Regions from separate parts of the Homo sapiens genome. Here all the other regions are linked to region 3. Evidence: promoter capture Hi-C in human tissues and cell types (Jung and others, 2019). All regions are on one chromosome and are shown on one strand. Each heading gives the region's core, a stretch centred on a gene start or on the middle of the fragment in contact. The rest is flanking DNA. Distances are from core to core; before and after follow the strand shown. Region 1 overlaps TEX11 (testis expressed 11). Region 2 overlaps TEX11 (testis expressed 11). Region 3 holds the start of SLC7A3 (solute carrier family 7 member 3).

The links. The method cuts DNA at HindIII sites, captures the fragments that hold promoters and counts their contacts. A contact is called where the count stands out against the background at its distance.
Region 1: a fragment that was not itself captured here is called in contact with the fragment with the promoter of SLC7A3 in region 3 in 1 of the 25 tissues and cell types used here (neural progenitor cells).
Region 2: a contact is called between a fragment that was not itself captured here and the fragment with the promoter of SLC7A3 in region 3, in 1 of the 25 tissues and cell types used here (small bowel).

Annotation. Positions count from the first base shown.
Region 1 is chrX:70,891,837-70,895,469 of GRCh38, forward strand. The region is part of intron 2 of TEX11 (testis expressed 11); the gene reads right to left. Among named protein-coding and RNA genes, the nearest start is that of TEX11, 15 kb to the right of the region's middle. The HindIII fragment of the contact is 5,725 bases long and covers 1-3,633 here.
Region 2 is chrX:70,872,409-70,876,212 of GRCh38, forward strand. TEX11 (testis expressed 11) reads right to left here. Exons shown (of 30, transcript NM_031276.3): 4 at 815-899. Among named protein-coding and RNA genes, the nearest start is that of SNORD3E, 28 kb to the left of the region's middle. The HindIII fragment of the contact is 9,503 bases long and covers 1-3,804 here.
Region 3 is chrX:70,929,840-70,933,691 of GRCh38, forward strand. SLC7A3 (solute carrier family 7 member 3) reads right to left here and starts at 1,257. Exons shown (of 12, transcript NM_032803.6): 1 at 1,138-1,257; 2 at 1-183. The coding sequence starts at 158. RefSeq lists an enhancer at 500-1,001. The HindIII fragment of the contact is 11,797 bases long and covers 1-3,852 here.

The sequences.
Region 1 (3,633 bases), core at 1,073-3,572, 37 kb before region 3:
AACCTAGCAAGGCAGCCCAACATTCAAATTCAGAAAATATGGAAAACACTACTAAGATAGTCCTTGAGAAGAGCAACATCAAGACACACAATCGTCAGATTCTCCAAGGTTGAAACGAAGGAAAACATGTTAAGGGCAGCCAGAGAGAAAGATCAGGTTACCCACAAAGGGAAGCCCATCAGAATAACAGTGGATCTCTCTACAGAAACCCTACAAGCCAGAAGAGAGTGGGGGCCAATATTCAACATTCTTAAAGAAAATAATTTTCAACCCAGAATTTCATATCCAGCCAAAATAAGCTTCATAAGCAAAAATAAATAAATAAATAAAAATAAATAAAATCCTTTCCAGACAAGCAAATGCTGAGGGATTTTGTCACCACCGGGCCTGCCTTACAAGAGCTCCTGAAGGAAGCACTAAATATGGAAAGGAAAAACTGGTACCAGCCACTGCAAAAACACACCAAAATATAAAGACCAACAACACTATGAAGAAACTGCATTAACTAATGAGCAAAATAACCAGATAGCATCATGTTGACAGGATCAAATTCACACATAACAATGTTAACCTTAAATGTAAATGGGCTAAATGCCCCAATTAAAAGACACAGACTAGCCAGGCGCAGTGGCTCACGCCTGTAATCCCAGCACTTTGGGAGGCTGAGGCGGGTGGATCAAGAGGTCAGGAGTTCAAGACCAGCTGGGCCAACATAGTGAAACCCTGTCTCTACTAAAAATACAAAAAATTGCTGGGCGTGGTGGCACACGTCTGTAATCCCAGCTACTTGGGAGGCTGAGGCAATAGAATCCCTTGAACCTGGGAGGCGGAGGTTGCAGTGAGATGAGATCGACCCACTGCACTCCAGCCTGGGAGACAAAGCAAGACTTAGTCTCAAAAAAAAAAAAAGACACATACTGGCAAATTGGATAAAGAGTCAAGACCCATCACTGTGCTGTATTCAGGAGATCAATCTCACGTGCAAAGACACACAGAAGCTCAAAATAAAGGGATGGAGGGTTATTTACCAAGCAAATGGAAAGCAAAAAAAAAGCAGGGGTTGCAATCCTAGTCTCTGATAAAACACACTTTAAACCAACAAAGATCAAAAAAGATGAGGGCATTACATAATGGTAAAAAGATCAATACAACAAGAAGAGCTAACTATCCTAAATATATATGCACCCAATACAGGAGCACCCAGATTCATAAAGGAAGTTGTTAGAGACCTACAAAGAGACTTAGACTCCCACACAATAATAGTGGGAGACTTCAACACCCCACTGTCAATATTAGACAGATCAACGAGACAGAAAATTAACAAGGATATTCAGGACTTGAACTCAACTCTAGACCAAGTGGAGCTAATAGACATCTACAGAACACTCCACCCCAAATCAACAGAATATACATTCTTCTCGGCACCACATAGCACTTATTCTAAAATTGACCACATAATTGGAAGTAAAATACTCCTCAGCAAATGCAAAAGAACGGAAATCATAACAAAAGAAAGGAAATCATAACAAACAGTCTCTCAGAACACAGTGCAATCAAATTAGAACTCAGGGTTAAGAAACTCACTCAAAACCACACAACTATATGGAAATTGAACAACCTGCTCCTGAATGACTACTGGGTAATAACGAAATTAAGGCAGAAATAATGAAGTTGTTTGAAACCAATGAGAGCAAAGAGACAACATACCAGGGTTGTTGTGCTGGGACACAGCTAAAGCAGTGTTAAGTGGGAAATTTATAGTACTAAGTGCCCACATCGGAAAGCTGGATAGATCTGAAATTGACACCCAAACATCACAATTAAAAGAACTAGAGAAGCAAGAGCAAACAAATTCAAAAGCCACCAGAAGACAAGAAATAACTAAGATCAGAGCAGAACTGAAGGAGATAGAGACACAAAAAACCCTTCAAAAAATCATTGAGTCCAGGAGCTGGTTTTTTGAAAAGATTAACAGAATAGATAGACCACTAGCTAGACTAATAAAGAAGAAAAGAGAGAAGAATCAAATAGATAATAAAAAATTATAAAGAGGCTATCACCACTGGTCCCACAGAAATACAAATTACCATCAGAGAATACAATAAACATCTCTACACAAATAAACTAGAAAATCTAGAAGAAATGGATGAATTCCTGCACACATACACCTCCCAAGACTAAATCAGGAAGAAGTCAAATCCCTGAATAGACCAATAACAAGTTCTGAAATTGAGGCAGTAATTAATAGCCTAGCAACCAAAAAAATCCCAGGACCAGACAGATTCACAGCTGAATTCTACCAGAGGTACAAAGAGGAGCTGGTACCATTCCTTCCGAAACTATTCCAAACAATAGAAAAAGAGAGACTACTCCCTAACTCATTTTATGAGGCCAGCATCATCCTGATACCAAAACCTGGCAGAGACACACACACGAAAAAAGAAAATTTCAGGCCAATATCACTGATGAACACTGATGCAAAAATCCTTAATAAAATATTGGTAAACCAGGCCAGGCGCAGTGGCTCACACCTGTAATCCCAGCACTTTGGGAGGCCAAGGCAAGCAGATCATGAGGTCAAGAGATCGAGACCATCCTGGCCAACCTGGTGAAGCCCCGTCTCTACTAAGAATACAAAAATCAGCTAGGCGTGGTGGCGCATGCCTGTAGTCCCAGCTACTCGGGAGGCTGAGGCAGGAGAATCACTTGAACCCGGGAGGAAGAGGTTGCAGTGAGCCAAGATTGCGCCACTGCCCTCTAGCCTGGCGACAGAGCGAGACTCCGTCTAAAAAAAAAAAAAAATACTGGCAAACCAAATCCAGCAGCACATCAAAAAGGCTTATCCACCACGATCAAGTCGGCTTCATCCCGGGGATGCAAGGCTGGTTCAACATACGCAAATCGATAAACATAATCCATCACATAAACAGAACCAATGACAGAAAGCACATGATTATCTCAATAGATGCAGAAAAAGCCTTTAATAAAATTCAACAGCCCTTCATGCTAAAAACTCTCAATAAACTAGGTATTGATGGAACATATCTCAAAATAATAAGAGCTATTTATGACAACCCACAGTCAATATCATACTGAATGGGTAAAAGCTGGAAGCATTCCCTTTGAAAACTGGCACAAGACAAGGATGCCCTTTCTCACCACTCCTATTCAACATAGTGTTGGAAGTTCTGGCCAGGTCAATGAGGCAAGAAAAAGAAATTAGTGGTATTCAAATAGGAAGAGAGGAAGCCAAATTATCTCTGTTTGCAGATGACATGATTGTATATTTAGACAACCCCATCATCTCAGCCCAAATACTCCTTAAGGTGATAAGCAACTTCAGCATATAAAATCAATGTGCAAAAATCACAAGCATTCCTATATACCAATAATAGACAAGCAGAGAACCAAATCATGAGTGAAATCCCATTCACAATTGCTACAAAAAGAATAAAATATCTAGGAATACAACTTACAAGGAATGTGAAGGATCTCTTCAAGGAGAACTACAAACCACTGCTCAAGGAAATAAGCGGGGACACAAACAAATGGAAAAAAATTCCATGCTCATGGATAAGAAGAATAAATATCATGAAAATGGGCATACTGACCTAAGTAATTTATAGATTCAAT
Region 2 (3,804 bases), core at 456-2,955, 57 kb before region 3:
TTAGTAGTAAATTATATTTGTTGCATACAGACAAAAGTCATTTGTCTTTACAATGTCAAGCAGTCCAGAGGTTCACCCTTTGGTATGTTACTTCAATGTATCCTTTATAATTGGCAATATACTTCCCATAAATGCATTTGCTGTCACTATGCCTGTTGAAAATCACTAACTGTCAGCACACTAGACTTTGCCCATTTAGCTAAAGCACTAGAACATTGCCAGACAGTGGACCACATTCAAAGCATCCAAGAAGATGAGTTTAGTTTGAGATTTTTGGTTTTTTTGTTCTTGTTGTTTGCTCTCACAGGTAGAAATCATTTCTATAGTTTCTCAGTAACTCATTCCAATGTTTATCAATCCATCTCCTGAGGAAACTATTCTTTACACTTTTTAAAATCTGAATATGTCATATGGCAACACTTATTCTATTATTAATAGAGGGGAAACTACTATTTGATGGTCCTTCAGAACCCTGAAGATTTTGATCATCTCCATGAGAAATAATCCATGTCCTTTAACATTTCTTTAAGTTCTCACTGTCCCACCTTTTAATCATCTTTGTTGTTCACCTCCTGACTATTTCTTGCAGTGATATCTTTAAACGTTTGTTAATAAGGAGCTAACCTCTGAAAAAAAAATCATAAAACTGAGGGAGGCCATTTGCTTGAGAAACCATTGTTCCTGGGTTGTTTTGTTTGTCTTTTAACAAATCTCTATCTAAGAATGGGTCAAAACATTATTTAAACTGCAGGAATACTACCCAATATATAGTAAGAACACGCCTCATAATACATGTCACAATATGTATACATACATCTAATTTTCTGCTCTTCATTTACAAGCCAACCTCCTCCTATGGTAAGTGCCCAGTTCCATAGGTTTACTGCCATTTCTTCAATCTGGTCAAAGAGAAACATTTCCTTAGTTAGTTAAAATACTGGCCACCTCCAACGGTATTTTCATTCTTGAATGTTGTATGCTTATGTAACTATTGTGGGTCATTTCCAGGCCCTCCATAATCTAGTCGCATTCTACCTCTCCCCGCAAAAACTTACCCACTGTTAGAGTAATTATCTATTTCCTGAACACAACTTGTTCATTCCTATCAATGTGTCTTTATTCATACTATTGATATACCTTCACCTGATATACCTCCTCCCTTTGTTTTTATGTAACTCAAATCCATTTCAGTCTCACCAACAACATAAATGAAGCTTTCAGCAACCATTACAGTCTACGTTGTTCTTTCTTCTTTGAATTCATATATTCATTAAGTTGTATACAATTTGGCAATTAATTATATTACTTTGTATCATTTATTCTTTGTTTTATTTCTTTTCTTTAACCCAATTTATGCACAGCAGTGGTACAAAATGTATGTTAGTTTTAAGTCTTTTCTTCCATGCCACTTTTCTCACTTACCATTTCACATTTTTCTGATGAGCTTCAGTTTAAACAGATGATTTATTTAACATGTGATATAGTTTGGATATTTTTCCCCTGAGAATCTCATATCAAAATTTGATCCCCAATGTTGGATGTGGGGCTGATGGGAGGTACTTGGGTCACGGGGATGGATCCCTCATTGTCTTGGTGCTGTCCTCACAGTAATGAGTGAGTTCTCAGTCTATTAGTTACTGCAAGATCTGATTCTTAAAAAAGAGCCTGGTACCTCCTCCTTTCTCTTTCCTCCTCTCTCATCATGTGATGCCTGCTCCCTTTCCCCTTCCAACATGATTGGAAACTTCCAGAGGCCCTCACTGGAAGCAGATGCCAGTGCCATGCTTCTTATATGATCTGCAGAACCATGAGCCAAATAAACTTCTTTTCCTTATCAATTACCCAGCCTCAGGTATTTCCTTTATAGCAATGCAAACAGCCTAATGCAGCATGGTTGTCATTTCACTTATTATTCTGGGGCTAATTATCATGTCCATCTCCATCACATAGTATCCTCAATGCCACAGTTGATCAAATGATGACTTCCTTTTTTTTTTTTTTTTTTTTTTTGGAGACAGAGTCTCATTTTGTTGCCCAAGCTGGAGTGCAATGGCGTGATCTCGGCTCACTGCAACCACCACCTCCCGGGTTCAAGTGATTCTCCCACCTCAGCCTCCCAAGTAGCTGGGATTACAGGCACCCACCATAATGCCTGGCTAATTTTTGTATTTTTACTTGAGATGGGGTTTCACCATGTAGGCCAGACTGGTCTCGAACTCCTGACCTCAGGTGATCCGCCCGCCTCAACCTCCCAAAGTGCTGGGATTACAGGCATGAGCCACCACACCCGGCTGACTTTCATACTAAGTATTATTTCATTTGTATCACTAAAAACACATGGAGTTAATAACTGCACTCCAAATTACCCAGAAGAACAAATGATTTGACATATTATGATGGGAAATGAGCATCCAGACTAAATAGCTTAAAGAAGCTACTTGTTTGGCATTTTGGAAAGCAATTTGGCAACATATAAAAATGTTCGCCTGGGTGCGGTGGCTCACACCTGTAATCCCAGCACTTTGGGAGGCCGAGGCGGTCGGATTGCCTGAGGTCAGGTGTTCGAGACCAGCCTGGCCAACATGGTCAAACCCTGTCTCTACTAAAATATACAAAAATTAGTCGTGCGTGGTGGCAGGTGCCTGTAATCCCAGCTACTCGGGAGGCTGAGGCATGAGAATCACTTGACCCCAGGAGGCGGAGGTTGCAGTGAGCCAAGATCATGCCACTGTACTCCAGCCTGGGCGAGACAGAGCGAGACTCTGTCTCAATAAAAATAAATAAATGAGTAAATAAATAAATAAACAAATAAAGTTCATATCTTTTGTCCCAATAGTTGCACTTTTGAGACTTTATCCTAAGAAATAGATGAAAATGTGTGGGGGGATAATCTTTGCACTTAATAGTGTTCTTCATATCATTATTTATAATAGTGAAAAATGAGGAACAATATGAGAAACAATATAAATATCCAATAATAAAGAAATAGGTGAATTATGATAACCTTCCTTGATGGAATAGTATTCATCCATTTAAAATAGTGGTCATGGCCAGACATGGTGGCTCACGCCTGTAATCCCAGCACTCTGGGAGGCCGAGGCAGGTGGATCACTTGAGGTCAAGAGTTCGAGACCAGCCTGGCCAACTTGGTGAAACCCCGTCTCTACTAAAAATACAAAAAAAAAAAAAAAAATAGCCAGGTGTGGTGGTGCACACCTGTAGTCTCAGCTACTCGGGAGGCTGAGGCAGAAGAATCACTTAAACCTGAGAGGTGGAGGTTGCAGTGAGCCGAGATCGTGCCACTGCACTCCAGCCTGGGCGACAGAGCGAGACTCTGCCTCAAAAAAATAAAAATAAAAACAAAAATAAAATAAAATAGTGGTCATGAAAACTATGTTTTTAACACGGGAAAATATTTATTACATGTCTAGTGAAAAAGGAAAGAAGGAAAGATACAAAACTGTATGTACAGAAAGTTGTACATATGCAAATCTTACCCCAAAGAAGAACTTCAATAAAATATTGGATTCTAGTTAATGATATGCACACTAAAACATTTAGGGGGGAAGTGTACTGTTGTCAGCAACTCATTTTAAAATGCACCCAAAAAATAAGATGCGCTAATGGACAAATGTATATGTGATGAAGCGAATATGGTAAAATGTTTACAACTGTAGAATGTAAGTGGCTGTTACATAGGTGTCCAGTGTAATATTCTTTCAACTTTTCTGTTTGAAAATGTTTATTTTAAAATGTTGGGAAAACAGAGCAAATTGCCTTTTATGATGCCAGAAATATTACATG
Region 3 (3,852 bases), core at 7-2,506:
AGGACATACACGCCTGCACCCAATGTGCTGCCCACACCCAGGGCCACTAAATCCAGGGTGCTTAGGCATCTGGCAAGGCGAGTCTCAGCCATGCCTGACTCCAGTGTACGTCTGCGTACCAGCTTTTGACCAAATCTGCGAAATGCTTGCCACGGCATCCTAGCAGGAATTGAAGAAGATGATCTGGTGAAAAACAAGACAAAAACCCCTCGACAGGGCTCATTATCCCTAAACTCTGAAAGCGAATTACAAGACCCCCTCCACCAAGCAAAGGAGCTATTGGGAAATGAGGACGGGGATATGGAAGGGACAAAGGCAAGTCACTTTACCTCTAACCTCAGTTTCTTCATAAACAAGTAGGAATTACAATACCTTACAAGGTTTTTGGAAGGGCTAATTTCAGAAATGGCACGTGAAAGCCCCCTGAAGTAGAGTGGCTGGCGCCTAGTAAGTGCTCAATCAATATTAGGTCTCTTTCTCTTGCCAGAAACTGATAGGGTTTATCCTAATCTCAACCCAGGAATCTTGAAACCTAATGTGTCAGTTCCTTGGCCTGTGGCTATTTGGGAATTAAACAGAGCTCCACCCAGGGGCTTCCCCCGGGGCTTCAAACAGACACAGCCCCCAGACCCCCCAGAGGGAGAGGGGACCAACCTCGCTGCAGATTAAAAGTGAGCACCGACTCAATTCCATCCCTCCTCACCAAGCCCACACTGCTCAACTAGCGCAGCTGTCGCCCAGGGGAGTAAGCAAATGTTCCCCTACTTCCTCCCAAGCCCTGCTAGGCTGACCTGCAAGCATCAACAGCGAGGCGGGGCTTCGACATCTAAAGATTTGGAGATGCGCCCCCAGAGGGGCCCCAGGGCAGCCCGAGATTGCTCGCACTCTCCTCTCAGCAGAGAGGAAGGGTTCCACCCGATGCCCCCCGACTCAGGTCCCAGATTTTCCTGCCCCCATCTAGAAATGGTTTGGAGCTGGGGTGGAGACGGGAGCCCTAACTCCCGGGGCGGGGGTCTCGCCAGCAACAGGTCACGGCCCCGTTGATGCAACTGCATGCCATGGTTGCCAGAGAATCCTAGGTACGCCCGGACCCTCGCCGTCCCCCCTCCGACACACGTGTGGGTCCCCAACGCTTACCAGAGAGCTGTTGCAAACCTAGGGAGCACAGAGTCTTGGACTGGGCTCGGTGAGGCGGAGTTAAGCCGAGTTGGGTTGGAGCTGCCGAGTTCGGCCGCTCAGGCTTCAAAGCTGCGGCTTGGGGTCGTTGCGCGCCAAGCGCCCCTTATATACACCAGGAGGCGGAGCCGGTAACGTCATGGGATCCCACCCCCAATCCTCCTCGCTACACACAATACACACACACACACACACACACACACACACACACACACACAACACACACACTTCTTGGCTTTGCAAAAGGATTGCGTGGGGCCTGAGACTGCGTCCCATCCTCACTAGCAAGCCTGGCGTGCCGGGGAGCGAGAAAAGGGGGAGGGCAGTCTTTTCCCATTTGTCTCGCTGGTCGTCAGAACAGGACAATAAGAGGCTTCCTGGCCAAAGAACCCATGAGATTTTCCACCTCTGTGCCCTGTTAGGACCAGTGATTCTGGGCAGGAATGGGGAAGGTAGGTGGGGTGTGATGGGGGGGAGTTGGGTGCGTGTGTGTGTGTGTGTGTGTGTGTGTGTGTGTGTGTGTGTCAGGAGTGAAGCGGAACACAGCAGGGGAGTCTCCACCTCACTCTCAGTCTTTCTTCCTTAGCTTTCTTGTCTACACATCTGACCCTGACCCTTCAGCTCTCACGCTCAGCTGTGGGTGTTTCTAATGCAGGCAGCAGGAGAATGGAAGATGATTTCAAGCCACCTGTATACAGATAATTAATCCAGTCTAAATTGATTTATAGGCCCCAATCTCTCTATAATGTGTCTCCAGCTGCCTATAAATATTAAACTATTAAATGTGAAATTCTGACAATACCAACATCTTGGAGGAGGAAGCTTGTTTAGTTCCATTTTATTGATGTGTAAGCTGAGGCTCAGAGGCATGACTTGTTTGACACCACACCATAATTATTGTTGACCACCTTTGATAAAACCTGGCCTGTTGGACTTCAATGCCTGCCTCCCGTAGGCACCATATCTTATTCAAATGAACAAGAAGAGGGATGTGGCCACAAGGAAAGACAAACAGGGAGAGGCATCAGCAGCAGGGTAGGTCCGTTTAGGCTAGGAGATACTAGGAAACAGAAAAGGACCCGAAGAATCTACGAATGATCACATTGGGTCAGATCCATAATCCATCTGACCCAATCAATTCTTACTCATAAGAAAGCACCAAAGGTTGTGAAAGTGTGGTCCCTGCTCCACCAAGACATCTTGGGGACTAAGGATGGACTCAAATATCCTTGCTTCTTTTAATGATCCATGATGAATATATTACCCATGAATCTAAAATCTAAATCCGTTCTGAAAGAATTGGTATTTTCAACCAGCTGCAGCTCCATTTGGCATTCATTAAGTATTTATTGAGCATTTATTGAGCACTATGTGTAGTAGCTGGTACAGCAATGAAGAGACTATGAAGGAAACATAAAATAAAATCCTTGCCCTCCTAGTCCTAATCTAACTAGGGAAAGAAAACACACACTATACAACTGAAACCTTATTACATAGACGTTAGGAGTGCTGTGTTTGGAATTGCACCTAGGTTAAACTCACAGCTCAGCCACTGTGGATTACCTAACATCCCTGAGCCTCAGTTTCTGGACATAATATACATATTTCACAAGGTTGTTGTGATGCTTAGATGAGATTATGAAGTCAAGTCTTCCTGCCTGGCACATGGAAAGTACTCAAGAAAAACTTGATACATATTTGGAACGATATATTAGTGTATATGATCTGGTTGCTTAGATTAGGTGATTGATTGGATTATGAGATTGATTATTTATCACAGAGATAAAATCCAAATGCCATGAAATCCAGTCTTTTAAAGAGTACAATTCAATAGGATTTAGTATACAGTCACAGAGTTGTGTATCCATCACTACAATCAGTTTTAGAACATTTCATCATTCCAAAAAGAAACCCTGTACCCATTCCCAGACACTCCCCATTTTCTCCCAATCCCCTCACCGTATCCCTAGGCAACCACAAATCAATTTTTTTGCCTCTGTAAATTTGCCTAGATGTTGGTCAAAGGATGTAGAGTTTCAGTTATGCAAGATGACTAAGTTCTGGGGATCTAACGTGCAGCATGGTCATTATAGTTATAACACTGTATTATGCTTGATACAGTTAATAGTATTGTATATTCATGTATATACTTGAAATTTGCTGAGAATAGAGCATAAATGTTCTTATCACATCAAAAAATAGTAATTATGTGAGGTGAGGGATATGTTAATTAGCCTCATTATGATAATCATTTCACTATATTATACATATATAAAAACATCATGTTGTACACTTTTAAAAATATACAATTTTTATTTACAACTATACTTCAATAAAGCCAAAAATAAAATGAATAAATAAAATGTAATTCAGTTGAGGGAAAAAAAGAAAGAAAACCACCATTTTGCACTCACCAAAGTAATAACTGATTCAGGCAAGGATAATCAATAGATGATCCTGGGTGTTGGGAAGCAAAATATTCACATGACCTCAAAATACCACCCAACAGATTATAGTTTAATTATAAAGGGAAAGGTCCTGTATTAGGGTTTTTTGTTTTGTGTTTTTTGTTTGTTTTGTTTTGTTTTTGAGACAGAGTCTCACTCTATCGCCCAGGCTGGTGCAGTGGTGCGATCTTGGCTCACTGCAATCTCTGCCTCCCAGGTTCAAGCGATC